Regions from separate parts of the Homo sapiens genome. Here region 1 is linked to region 2. The links are contacts of gene promoters, found by promoter capture Hi-C in blood cells and fetal thymus (Javierre and others, 2016). All regions are on one chromosome and are shown on one strand. Each heading gives the region's core, a stretch centred on a gene start or on the middle of the fragment in contact. The rest is flanking DNA. Distances are from core to core; before and after follow the strand shown. Region 1 has its middle 55 kb from the start of PNRC1-DT. Region 2 holds the start of GABRR2 (gamma-aminobutyric acid type A receptor subunit rho2).

Region 1 (5,591 bases), core at 1-2,500, 290 kb after region 2:
GATTCCTTCTGCCCTTAATCATCTTTGGTGTCCTCTGGATCTTTTCTAGCTCCACTGTATCTTCAAGAAGCAGAGACTAGAACCCCATAAAATTTTCATCATATAAAAGATTCCAGGGCCAGGTACTCTTTCAGTTGTAGTCACTTCTCTCTCTCTCTTTTTTTTACAATAATCTCCAGACAAGTTTTCAGTTGTTTCCCTTGATGCATCTCCCAGATCTGTGCTTGCCACAGACTGAAACTTATTTGAGAATTCACGGCTGGTTCCTCCTTTTTTACATGAACCGAATCCAAACAGAAATCACACTTGAGATCATAAACTTACCTTCATTAAATATTTATTGGAGTTTGAGAAGATGCCAGGCATTGTGCTAGGTATGTGGAGGTGGAAATAGGAGGTGGTTTCAAATATTAATAAAAAGCAACAGCTCTTGGTGGGGCATGGTAGCTCACACCTGTAATCCCAGAGCTTTGGGAGGTCAAGGTGGGGGGATTGATTGAGCTCAGGAATTCAGGACCAGCCTGGGTACCATAGTGAGACCCTGTCTCTACAAAAAATTACAAAAATTAGCCAGGCATGGTGGCACATGCCTGTAGTCCCAGCTATTCAGGAGGCTGAGACAGGAAGATTGCTTGAACCTGGGAGGCAGAGGTTGCAGTGAGCTGAGATCATGCCACTGCACTCCAGCCTGGGGTCTAGAAGGAGATCCTGTCAAAAAAAAAAAAAAAAAAAAAAAAAAGGAGGGGAGTTAAAAAAACAAAAAAGAGCAGCAGCTCTTAACACACAGCCTGGCTGGGCGTGGTAGCTCACGTCTGTAATCCCCGAACTTTGGGAGGCTGAGGTAGGAGGACCATTTGAGCCCTGGAGTTCGAGACCAGCCTGAGCAACATGGCTAGACCCTGTTTCTACAAAAAATACAAAAATCAGCCAGGCGTGGTGGCACATGCCTGTAGTCCCAGCTACTCAGGAGGCTGAGGCAGAAAGATCCCTTGAACCCAAGAGGTCAAGGTGGTTTCAAACATTAATAAGAAGCAGCAGTTCTTGGCAGTTCACTGGGTGCAGTGAGCTGTGATTGCACCACTGCACTCCAGCCTGGGCAACAGAGAGAGACTCCGTCTCAAAAAAAAAAAAATTAAAAAAATTAAAAAAATTTTAGAGCAGATGATTCTGTACTAAAAAAGAAAATAATAAATAAATTAAAAATTAAAAACACACACACACCTAACGGGTGAGAAAAATGAATGAAAAATTATCTATCTGCATGTAAATGCTATGGGTTCAACCCATCTCTAGGAAGTTATATTCATTTCTATTATTGCTGTAAAAAATTACCACAAATTTTGTGGCTTCATTCAACACAAATTTATTCTCTTACAGTTCTGGAGGTCAGAAGTTAGAAATGAGTCTTAAGGGCTAAAATCAAGGCACTGACAGAGCCAGTTCCTTCTGAAGGCTCCAGGGGAGAATCCTTCCTCCCAGCTTCTAGAAGTGGCTGGCATTCTTTGGCACGTGGCTGCATCACTCCCACCTCTGCTACCATCATCACATCACCTCCTCCTCTCTTTCACCTCCTGCCTTCCTTTTACAAGGACCCCTTATGATTACATCAGACCCACCTTGATAATCCAGGGTACTCGCCTATCTTAAGATAACTTAATCACATCTGCAAAGTCCTTTTACCATGTAAAATAACATATAAACAGGCTCCAGGGATCAGGATGTGAACCTCTTTGGGGAGCTATCATTCAGCCAACCATAGAAGTCAAGAGAGCAATGACTTAACACGACACTTGAATTTTGAGTGCAGCGATAGCTGGCATTAAGTGGGCCTTTCCTTTATGCCAGGCATTTCACTAAGGGTTTTACATTTGCTTTCTCATTCAGTTTTTATACTAGGCTGGGTGTGGTGGCTCATGCCTGGATCCCAGCACTTTGGGAGGCCAAGGCGGGAGGATCCCTCAAGCCTAGGAGTTCAAGACCACCCTGGGCAACATGGCGAAAGTCAGTCTCCAAAAAGAAAGTACAAAAATTAGCCAGGTGTGGTGGTGCATGCCTGTAGTCCCAGCTACTCGGGACGCTGAGGTGGGATGATCACCTAAGTCTGGGGAGACTGAGGCTGCAGTGAGCTGTAATGGTGCCACGGCACTCCAGCCTGGGCAACAGAGTGAGACCCTGTCTCAAAAACAAAACAATCTTTACATTAGGTCTCAGAGGTCGTGGTTGTTATTATCTCCATTTTCCAGGAGCGGAAAATAAAGCTCAAGAGGTTAAGTTACTTGCTTAACATCCTGGCTAGCAAACAGAGGAGTCAGGATTTGAAAGAAGGTGTGACCCAATTACTATGCTGTACTGATAAAAGGAAAACTGAAGGAGAAGGGCATGCCAGGACAAGGAAGCAGTATATTAAAAGGCCTAGAAGCTGGAAGAGCACGGAGCCTTTGAGGTATAACTGGGGTGAGGAAGTGATGGGAGGAAGAAGGGAAGACAAAGTTGGGAAGGGAGACAAGGGCTGGATGGTGATGGACTCCTGGGAGAAGGGTTCCTGTAGACAATGGGGAATCTCTAAAGGATTTTAGAAAGGTGAGACTGCCGGGTGTGGTGGTTCAATGGCTGTAATCCCAGTGCTTTGGGAGGCCAAAGTGGGAGGATTGTTTGAGCTCAGGAGTTGAAACCAGGCTCAGCAGCATACGAGACCCTGTCTCTACAAAAAATAAAATATTAGTCTGGTATGGTGGCATGCACCTGCAGTCCCAATTATTCGAGAGGCTGAGGTGGGTCATTTGAGCCCAGGAGTTAGAGGCTGCAGTGATCTTGCCACTCTACTCCAGCCTGGGCAACAGAAAGAGACCCTGTCTCAAAAAAAAAAAAAAAAAAAAATTCAAAATATAAAAGAGGCTGGGTGTGGTGGCTCACACCTGTAATCCCAGCACTTTGGGAGGCCGAGGCGGGTGGATCACCTGAGGTCAGAAGTTCGAGACTAGCCTGGCCAACATGGCAAAACTCTGTTTCTACTAAAAAATACAAAAATTAGCTGGGCGCAGTGACTCATGCCTGTAATCCCAGCACTTTGGGAGGCCCAGGCGGGCAGATCACAAGGTCAGGAGATTGAGACCATCCTGGCCAACATGGTGAAACCCCGTCTCTACTGAAAATACAAAAATTAGCCGGGTGTGGTAGCGGGTGCCTGTATAGTCCCAGCTACTCGGCAGGCTGAGGCACGAGAATTGCTTGAACCCGGGAGGCAGAGATTGCAGTGAGCTGAGATCACGCCACTGCACTCCAGCCTGGCAACAGAGCAAGACTGTCTCAAAAGAAAAAAAAAAATTAGCTGGGTGTAGTGGTGGGGTCTTATAATCCCAGTTACTCGGGAGGCTGAGGCAGGAGAATCTCTTGAACTTGGGAGGCAGAGGTTGCAGTGAGCCAAGATCATACTACCACTGCACTCCAGCCTGGGTGACAGAATGAGACTCCATCTAAAAATAAAAGGGAGAGAGATGGAGGGAGACAAATTCCTGGTGATGTCATTTGAAGCCCTGGATATAGCCATACTTGAAGTCAACCCACTGGGCCCTGGACTTTCCAGGAATATAAGTGCATAAATTCTCTTTCTCTTTTTATTTTTGTTTATCTTGTTTTGGTTTGTTTATATTTTTGCTTGAGTTGGTTTGCATTGGGATTCTACCACTTGCATTTGAAAGTTTCCTAAAGAATGCGGTGGCACCACATGGTCTGGCCCCTTCCTGCCTGTACCCACTGTTCCCTTGATCTCTGTGCTCCAGCAAACTTGGCTTTCTTTCAGTCACTTAGAAATGCCTGGGGATCCTCTGCCATAACTGCTTTGCATATACTACTGCCCTGCCTGGAACATTCTTCCTCCCTCTTTGCCCAGTTAACTCTTACTCATCTTCCAGGTTGCTGCCTAAGGTCATTCTAATAGCTTGTTACAAGGTGGCCCCTGATGAATTCCATCTTCCAGTATTCATGCCCTTGTGTGATAGTCCCCTCTCCTGAACTCTGGGTGGACTGATTTAACCAGTGGAATTCAGCAGATATGATGCTGTGTCAGTTCCAAGCCTAAGCCTTAGGAAAGGCTGGCAGCTTCTATTTTTGTGCTCTTGGAAGGCTTGAGCCAACATATTAAAGGTCTGATTATCCTGCTGGAGAGACCAAATGGAAAGATTACATGAGAGAATCCCAGCTGTGGCCTAGCCTAAGTGCCAGCTGGATGCAGCCTCCTGAGTGACCACTGACAAGACCAGAGAAACTGACCATCTGAGCCCAGCCCGAATTACAAAATTGTGTGCAAATAAAGTGGTTCCTCTCTATATCTCTTTTGTCTTCTTTAAGCTTGTTACTTTGTGCTATTATGTTTTAGGGTAGTTTGTTGTGCAATATTAGATAAGGGAAAGAGTCACTTCAAGAAAACTCCTCTGGCCGGGCACAGTGGCTCACACGTGTAATCCCAGCACTTTGGGAGGCCAAGGTGGGAGGATCTCTTGAGTCCAGGAGTTCAAGACCAGCCTGGGCAACATGGAAAGACCCCGTCTCTACAAAACATACAAAACTAGCTGGGCATGGTGGCATGCACTGGTAATCCCAGCTACTCAGGAGGCTGAGGTGGGAGGATTGATTGAGCTCCGGAGTTGGAGGCTGCAGCGAGCCGAAATCACACCACTGCACTCCAGCCTGGGTGCTAGAGCCAGACCCTGCCTGGAAAAAAAAAAACAAGAAAACTCCTCTAACACTCCTAGACCAAGTCAATCCCATTGCAGACATTTTCACAGGAAAAAAGACATGATCATAGTACTGTGCACATTTCCTTTAGAACACTTATTACAATTCACAGTTGTTTGTAGCTTTAACTCAAGAATGACTTTTCTTTTCAGGGTCCCTTTTCTGTGATAAACTCAATAATTTCAGGAGTATTTATCCAACCTTAAGACATCAGTCTTTATTGTGGTTGGAAAGTTAGGTCTGTCTGCCAAAGGACCCAGTTCTCTGCTTCCATTCCTGCTGAATCTGCTGCTGATCCTCCAAATGCAGGTTCAGTAGAAATTGTAGCACAAAAGTTTCTCACAGAAAAGGTCCCAGAGGGCTCCCTTCCCCCTCCTAATTTGTGAGTCTGCTCTTAAGCATTTAGGCACCATTAATAGGAAAACTAGATTTTAAAAGATTCATGGTGCATGGTTTACAGTATTCAGATTTACATAGCAGGTTCTTCCAAATTACACTTAGGGGAATAAATCAGTGACTAACTTTGGCAATCTCACAAAGCACAGAGCCTTCCAGTTTTAAAGGTTTTTGCTGGTGAGTCATTAAGTTAAAAAAGGAAATCTATATTGGTGATAAATCTTTGTAGAAGTACTCTATGTTCTGCTAAAATTGATTGTTTCTAGGTGGCTACTTCAACTAATATTATGAAAAGAATAGATTTCTGTTGTAATACAAAATGATACTTTCTGAGAAATTGTTCCTAGTCTTGCTTTTTTTAAAAAAAAAGTTGGCACAGGAGATTTATTACAGAGGGTACTTCCAGAGGACCAGAACTTTTAATAAATTGATTCTGTGGTTATTTTCATTGTTTAACATTA
Region 2 (6,245 bases), core at 3,294-5,793:
TTTGAGAACTATCCATTCTGTTTTCCATAGAGGTTGTACAAATTCACATTCCCACCAACAGTGTATAAGTATTCCCTTTTCTCTGCATTCTCGTGAACATCTTTTGTTTTTAGACTTTATAATAATAGCCATTCTGACTAGTGCAAAATGGTACCTCATTGTGGTTTTAATTTGCATTTCTATGATGGTTAGTGATGTTGAGCATTTTATTTTATATGCTTGTTGCTGCTTGTGTGTCTTCATTTGAAAAATGTTCTTGTCCTTTGCCCACTTTTTAATGGAGTTACTTGTTTTTGTTGTTGTTGTTGTTGAGTTCTTTGTAGATTCTGGATATTAGCCCTTTGATGCATAGTTTGCAAATATTTTTTCTTACTCTATGGGTTGTCTGTGTACTCTGTTGATTGTTTCTTTTGCTGTGCAGGAAGCTTTTGAGTTTAGTTAGGCCCCGTTTGTCTATTTTTGGTTTTGTTGCACTGGCTTTTGAGGACTTGGTCATAAATTATTTGCCCAGGCCGTAGGTATGTGGCTTTATTTCTGGATTGTATATTCTGTTCCATTGATCTATGTGTTGATTTTTATATCAGTATTATGCTGCTTTGGTTACTACAGCCTTGTAGCATAATTGAAGTCAGGTAAAACCTCTAGCTTTGTTCTTTTTGCTTAGGATTGGTTTGGCTATTCAGGCTCTTTTGGATTCTATGTGAATTTTAGAATTTTTTTTTTCTAATTCTGTGAAAAATGATTTTGATAATTTGATAGGGAATGCATTGAATCTGTAGATTGCTTTGGGCAGTATGGCCATTTCAATGATATTGATCCTGCCAATCCTTGAGCATGGGATGTTTTTTCATTTTTGTTTGTGTCATCTAGGATTTCTTTCATAAGTGTTTTGTAGTTCTTAAAGAGATCTTTCACCTCCTTGGTTAAATATATTCCTAGGTATTTTATTTTATTTTTGTAGCTATTGTAAAAGAGATTGCCTTCTTAATTTGGTCCTTGGCTAGATCTTTACTGGTGTGTGGGAACACTACTGATTTCTGTACATTAATTTTGTATTGTGAAACTTTACAAAATTCATTTATCAAATCTAAGAGGGCTTTTATGGAGTCTTTTTTAATTTTTCATCATCCTCCATGGTTGGATTTTGTGGAGTTTTTAGGGTTTTCTAGAAACAAGATCATATCATCAGCAAACACGGATAATTTGACTTTCTCTTTTCCAATTTAGAAGTTTTTTATTTCTTTCTCTTGCCTGATTGGTCTGGTGAGGACTTCCAGTACTATATTAAATAAGAGTGGTGAAAGTGGGCATCCTTGTCTTCTTCCACTTCTTAGAATGTTTTCAACTTTCCCCCATTAAGTATGATGTTGGCTGTGGGTTTGTCATATATGAGCTTTATTATGTTGAGATATCTTCCTTCTATGCCTAGTTTGTTGAGAATTTTTATGATGAAGGGAAGCTGAATTTTATCGAACACTTTCTCTGCATCTATTGAGATGACCACATAGTTTTCCTTAATTCTGTTTATGTGATGTATCATGTTTATTGACTTGTGTATGTTGAACCATCCTTGTATCCTTGGGATAAATCGTACCTCATCATGGTGTATAAACTTTTTGATGTGCTGTTGTTTTCAATTTGTGGTATTTTGTTGAGGATTTTTTGCATCTATATTCATTGGGAATATTGGTCTGTAGTTTTTTTTGTTGTTGTTGTGTCCTTGTCTGGTTTTGGTATCAGGGTGATACTGGTCCCATAGAATGAGTTAGGGAGAATTCCCTCCTCCTTGATTTTTTGGAATAGTTTCAGGAGGATTGGTTTTAGTTCTTTGTATGTTTGGTAGAATTTGTCTGTAAATCCATCTGGTCCTGGACTATTTTAGTTTTTGGGAGATTTTTTTTATTACTGATTCAATCTTGCTACTTGTTATTGGTCTGTTCAGGAGGTCTATTTCTTCCTGGTTCAATCTCAGGAGATTATGTGTTTCCAGAAATGTATTCATTTCCTCTAGGTTTTCTAGTTTGTGAGCATAAAGCTGTTCATAACAGACTCTGATGATCTTTTGTATTTCTGTGGTATCATTTGTAATGTCTCCCTTTTCATTTCTGATTGTGTTTATTTGGAGCTTCTCTCTTCTTTTCTTGGTTAGTCTAGCTAGTGGTTTGTCAATTTTCTTTATCTTTTCAAAAAAACAACTTTTTTTTTTATTGATCCTTTGTATCGTTTTATTGGTCTCTATTTCATTTAGTTCTGCTCTGATCTTTGTTATTCCTTTTATTCTGCTAACTCAGGGTTTGGTTTCTTCTGCTTTTCTCGTTCCTTGAGGTGCCATAGGAGTTTGTTAGTTTGTGATCTTTCTACTTTTTTGATATGGGCATTGAATACTGTAAATTTCTCTCTTAGCACTGCTTTTGTTATATGCCACAGGCTTTGGTATGCTGTACTTTTTTTCATTTCAAAAAGTTTTTAAATTTCTGTCTGAATTTCTTTGTTAACCTACTGATTGGTCAGGCTCTCTGCTCTTCTTGCACAAAGAACTGGGAGGGACTCTCTGGAATTTCCCTATCTAAGAAAGTTTAAATGCACTTAAGACCCCCTACCTAGGGATCTCACAAAATAACCAGGAAAAATCAACCATCTGAGAAGAGAAGAGACTGGGAGTTCTCACTGCACCCAGATAGACTTTTCATCTAGTCTTCTGAGGGCAGCTTTAAGAGATTACCTGTTGGACTTTATCTGTATAAGACAACTTTAGTTCCTGTGTAGTTCCACCCCTCACTTTCCTCCTGGGTCCATTCATCCTCCCTAATGATTTACTGTCCCTCAAAAGAATTGCCTACATCCCCCATCTCTTCCTTATGAAAAAGGGTATATAAATGTCTGTACCATGCTGGGTAATTGGGTAATCATGATGTGATTTTCCTCCATGCATGTTAATAAATCTGTATGCCTTTTCCCCTATTAATCTTCCTTTTGTCAGTTGATTTTTTGGTGATCCTCCATGGGGCAAAGGGAAAACTTTCACTTGGTCTCTACAGCTCCAGATCTATTTCTATAGTCTAGAAATAGAACTAGACTTTCTCCTGAACTCCAGGCTCATGCTCTAGCTTTTTTTTTTTTTTTTTTTTTTTTGGAGACGGAGTCATGCTCTGTCGCCCAGGCTGGAGTGCAGTGGTGTGATCTTGGCTCACTGCAGCCTCTGCCTCCCAGGTTCAAGTGATTCTCCTGCCTCAGCCTCCTGAATAGCTGGGATTAACAGGCACGTACCACCACACCTGGCTAATTTTTGTATTTTTAGTAGAAATGGGGTTTCACCACGTTGGCCAGGCTGGTCTTGAACTTCTGACCTCAGGTAATCCACCTGCCTCTGCCAAAGTGCTGGGATTACAAGTGTGAGCCACCGTAGAATTCTTGATATTATTGTTGACTTTTCTGTCTCTCACCTTCTACTCTATCTGCACAGGCACCAAATGTATGCTACCGCAGAACTAACTTGAGTATCTCACTCTTCTGTCTTCCTTTCTCTTCTTCCTTCTTCGCTTCCCTCAGAGCAGGACCTTATTCTCTTTTGTCATCATAAGTTCCCTGATTCGACTGATCCCAATTAGGAATTATTTCAAAAATAAAGTAGATCATGCCATCTCACTTTGCTTAAGGGAATCAAAGAGCTTCTTTTGATTCTGTCATTTATACATAGTAAAATCCCAATTCTGTTTCACTTACGGCTATCCCACCTCCTGATCTCTGTCCTCATCTCCCTATGTTTCTACCATGAAATTTTCCATTGCCAGGACATAGCAAGCAATGAGTAGTTTTTAAACATATTCTATTTTGTTCAGTAGGTTAGACATAACCACATGTATCTCTACAATTCTAATGTGCTTAATTCCATATCCCAGGATAGGAATAAAGCCTAATTTATGATTGATTTTATACATTTTAGGGTTAAAGGCCAAAGTTAATTTAATGCTTATGGTAGGAAGAAAAGCTTACATAATCATGAATTCTATGATTAATGTCATCCTTGAAACTAAAAATGTATTTTATGCTTTGATGTTTTCACTGGAAAAAGTTGATCTATATTTGTGAGAAAGGAAGTATCCTTGCTCATAGGCAAAGCATATTCTCTTAGCTCCATAAATAAATCAACCCTAAGGAAACAGGTCATTCATGTTTACTCAGCATTTCCTGAACACATTTATGTACCCATCTAAATGTCCACCAAGTCCTCTCTGCAAATCTACTTGGAATCCGAGCTGACCCCCTGGTGGATGGGACAGACTGGTTTTATGCAGCCAGAAGATGGACCAATAATCTCAGCACAAAGCTGGCATGTTCAAGAGATTTAATTTTTTATATAACAGCTTTAGCCAAAGCTATTCTAGGATTCAGTGGAAGCAGAATTTCATGAGGACAAACTTCTCGACTAATGGCCAATCACTAATCAGCAGGGAGGGCAAAGCCTGGTGTTTGTGTCATGGCCCGGAGTGGAGGGGGTGAGTGGGGCGTCAGTATCAAATAGTAAATCGGGACAACTAGCCTGGCCAGCCTTGCCCTCACAGCCCCTCAGAGCAGCCCGTCAGGAGGCAGCAGATGGATCAATGGTCAAGCCAGGGGGGATTTGCTCTGCCACAGGCTACTGGAAAGCAGCTTTTTGCCTCACAGATGTCCACAAAATGCCTTATTTTACAAGACTCATTTTGTTCTTGTTTTGCTTGATGGTTCTCGTGGAGAGCAGAAAACCCAAGAGGAAGCGATGGACAGGGCAGGTGGAAATGCCCAAGCCAAGGTAAAGTCATAGGTGGGAAAGGAGGGAGGTTACCCTGCATAGTAGCAGCAGCAGTGGCACAGTGGGATGGCTCCCCAGGGGGCTAAGGTCCTATTGAGATATCGCCCTATGAGAATGAGAACCCAGCTACTTCACTGAACGCAGCCTCTCCCTGGGCACACATACTCTATGTGTCACAAGCATTGAGAGCAGAACTAGACTGGGATGAGCCTTCCTTCGGATGCCTGCGTTCAGCCAAAGCATTTTGATTTGAGGCAGATATAAATAGTTGGAGACGTAGTGGGTAAAATCATTCTCTGTACAAATCACATTGTGCTGCTTTGTTTCTCAGGGTTACAACCGATGACCTGCTAAATAATTACACTCAAGTATTTTGGGGAGAACTGTATATAGGAACCTAGCCTGAACTATTAAGAAAAAAATGCATACGGGAGTTGTCTTCCTTAAATTATTTGCCAGAGAATAACTTTATAATGATATTGGGTTTCATTTTACTGTTTTGAATCTTAGAAGAGGTGTTCAGAAATTTGCTTAATTATCAGAAATATATGTGTGAACAACAGTGAATGCAATTTCATGATGTAATGGAGACATTCCCAAGAAATAATAGCCCAGGATCTGCATTCAAAATCATTACATTACAAATCTAAGTTCCTTAGGAAGTTTATTTTGAATTGACATACGAAGCATCATACTCCAGGCCTGAAGTAGACATAAGGACTGTTAGACATGGAGATAAGAAAAGAACAAGCAGCTAAGATATAAACACCATGTGTGGCATGTTACACATTTATTTTCCATTCTACTAAGCATCAGATAAACTAGTGGTTTTGAATATAAATTAATATCTTGAGGCACATTTTCTAGGTCAGTCCCCAAACATTTTTGAACATGCGCTGCTGTCAATGACAAGTTTTTGAAACTGTACCTCTAATACATGCATATTTACTTACAAATCACATACATGTGCTGTTATAAATATGTATGTTAAAGTTTAATTGATTTCTTATTTTTAGAAAAAAAAAAAAAAAACCCTGAATATAAATAAGAGTTACAGCCTCTACTTCCAGTATCCCAGTGGCAACTGCTGCTCTGGGAGAGGTTATTACTCTCTTTTGTTTATTTGTTTGTTTGTTTTTTGAGATGGACTCTCTGTCACCCAGGCTGGAGTGCAGTGGCGCAATCTTGGCTCACTGCAACCTCCACCTCCCGGGTTCAAGCGATTCTCCTGCCTCAGCCTCCCGAGTAGCTGGGATTACAGGCGTGCACCAGCATGCCTGGCTAATTTTTGTATTTTTAGTAGAGACAGGGTTTCACCATGTTGGCCAGGCTGGTCTCAAACTTCTGACCTCAAGTGATCCACCCACCTTGGCCTCCCAAAGTGCTAGGATTACAGGCAGAAGCCACCACACCCAGCCTATAATTACTCTCTCTGGAGCCTAGTCCTACTCAGCGG

The links. The method cuts DNA at HindIII sites, captures the fragments that hold promoters and counts their contacts. A CHiCAGO score of 5 or more calls a contact.
Region 1: a fragment that was not itself captured here is called in contact with the fragment with the promoter of GABRR2 in region 2 in 1 of 17 cell types (neutrophils); the score reaches 5.0 in neutrophils.

What each region holds. Positions count from the first base shown.
Region 1 is chr6:89,022,601-89,028,191 of GRCh38, reverse strand. No RefSeq gene overlaps it. Among named protein-coding and RNA genes, the nearest start is that of PNRC1-DT, 55 kb to the left of the region's middle. The HindIII fragment of the contact is 6,199 bases long and covers 1-4,349 here.
Region 2 is chr6:89,313,597-89,319,841 of GRCh38, reverse strand. It overlaps GABRR2 (gamma-aminobutyric acid type A receptor subunit rho2), which reads left to right and starts at 4,543. Exons shown (of 9, transcript NM_002043.5): 1 at 4,543-4,789. The coding sequence starts at 4,677. The HindIII fragment of the contact is 14,907 bases long and covers 3,991-6,245 here.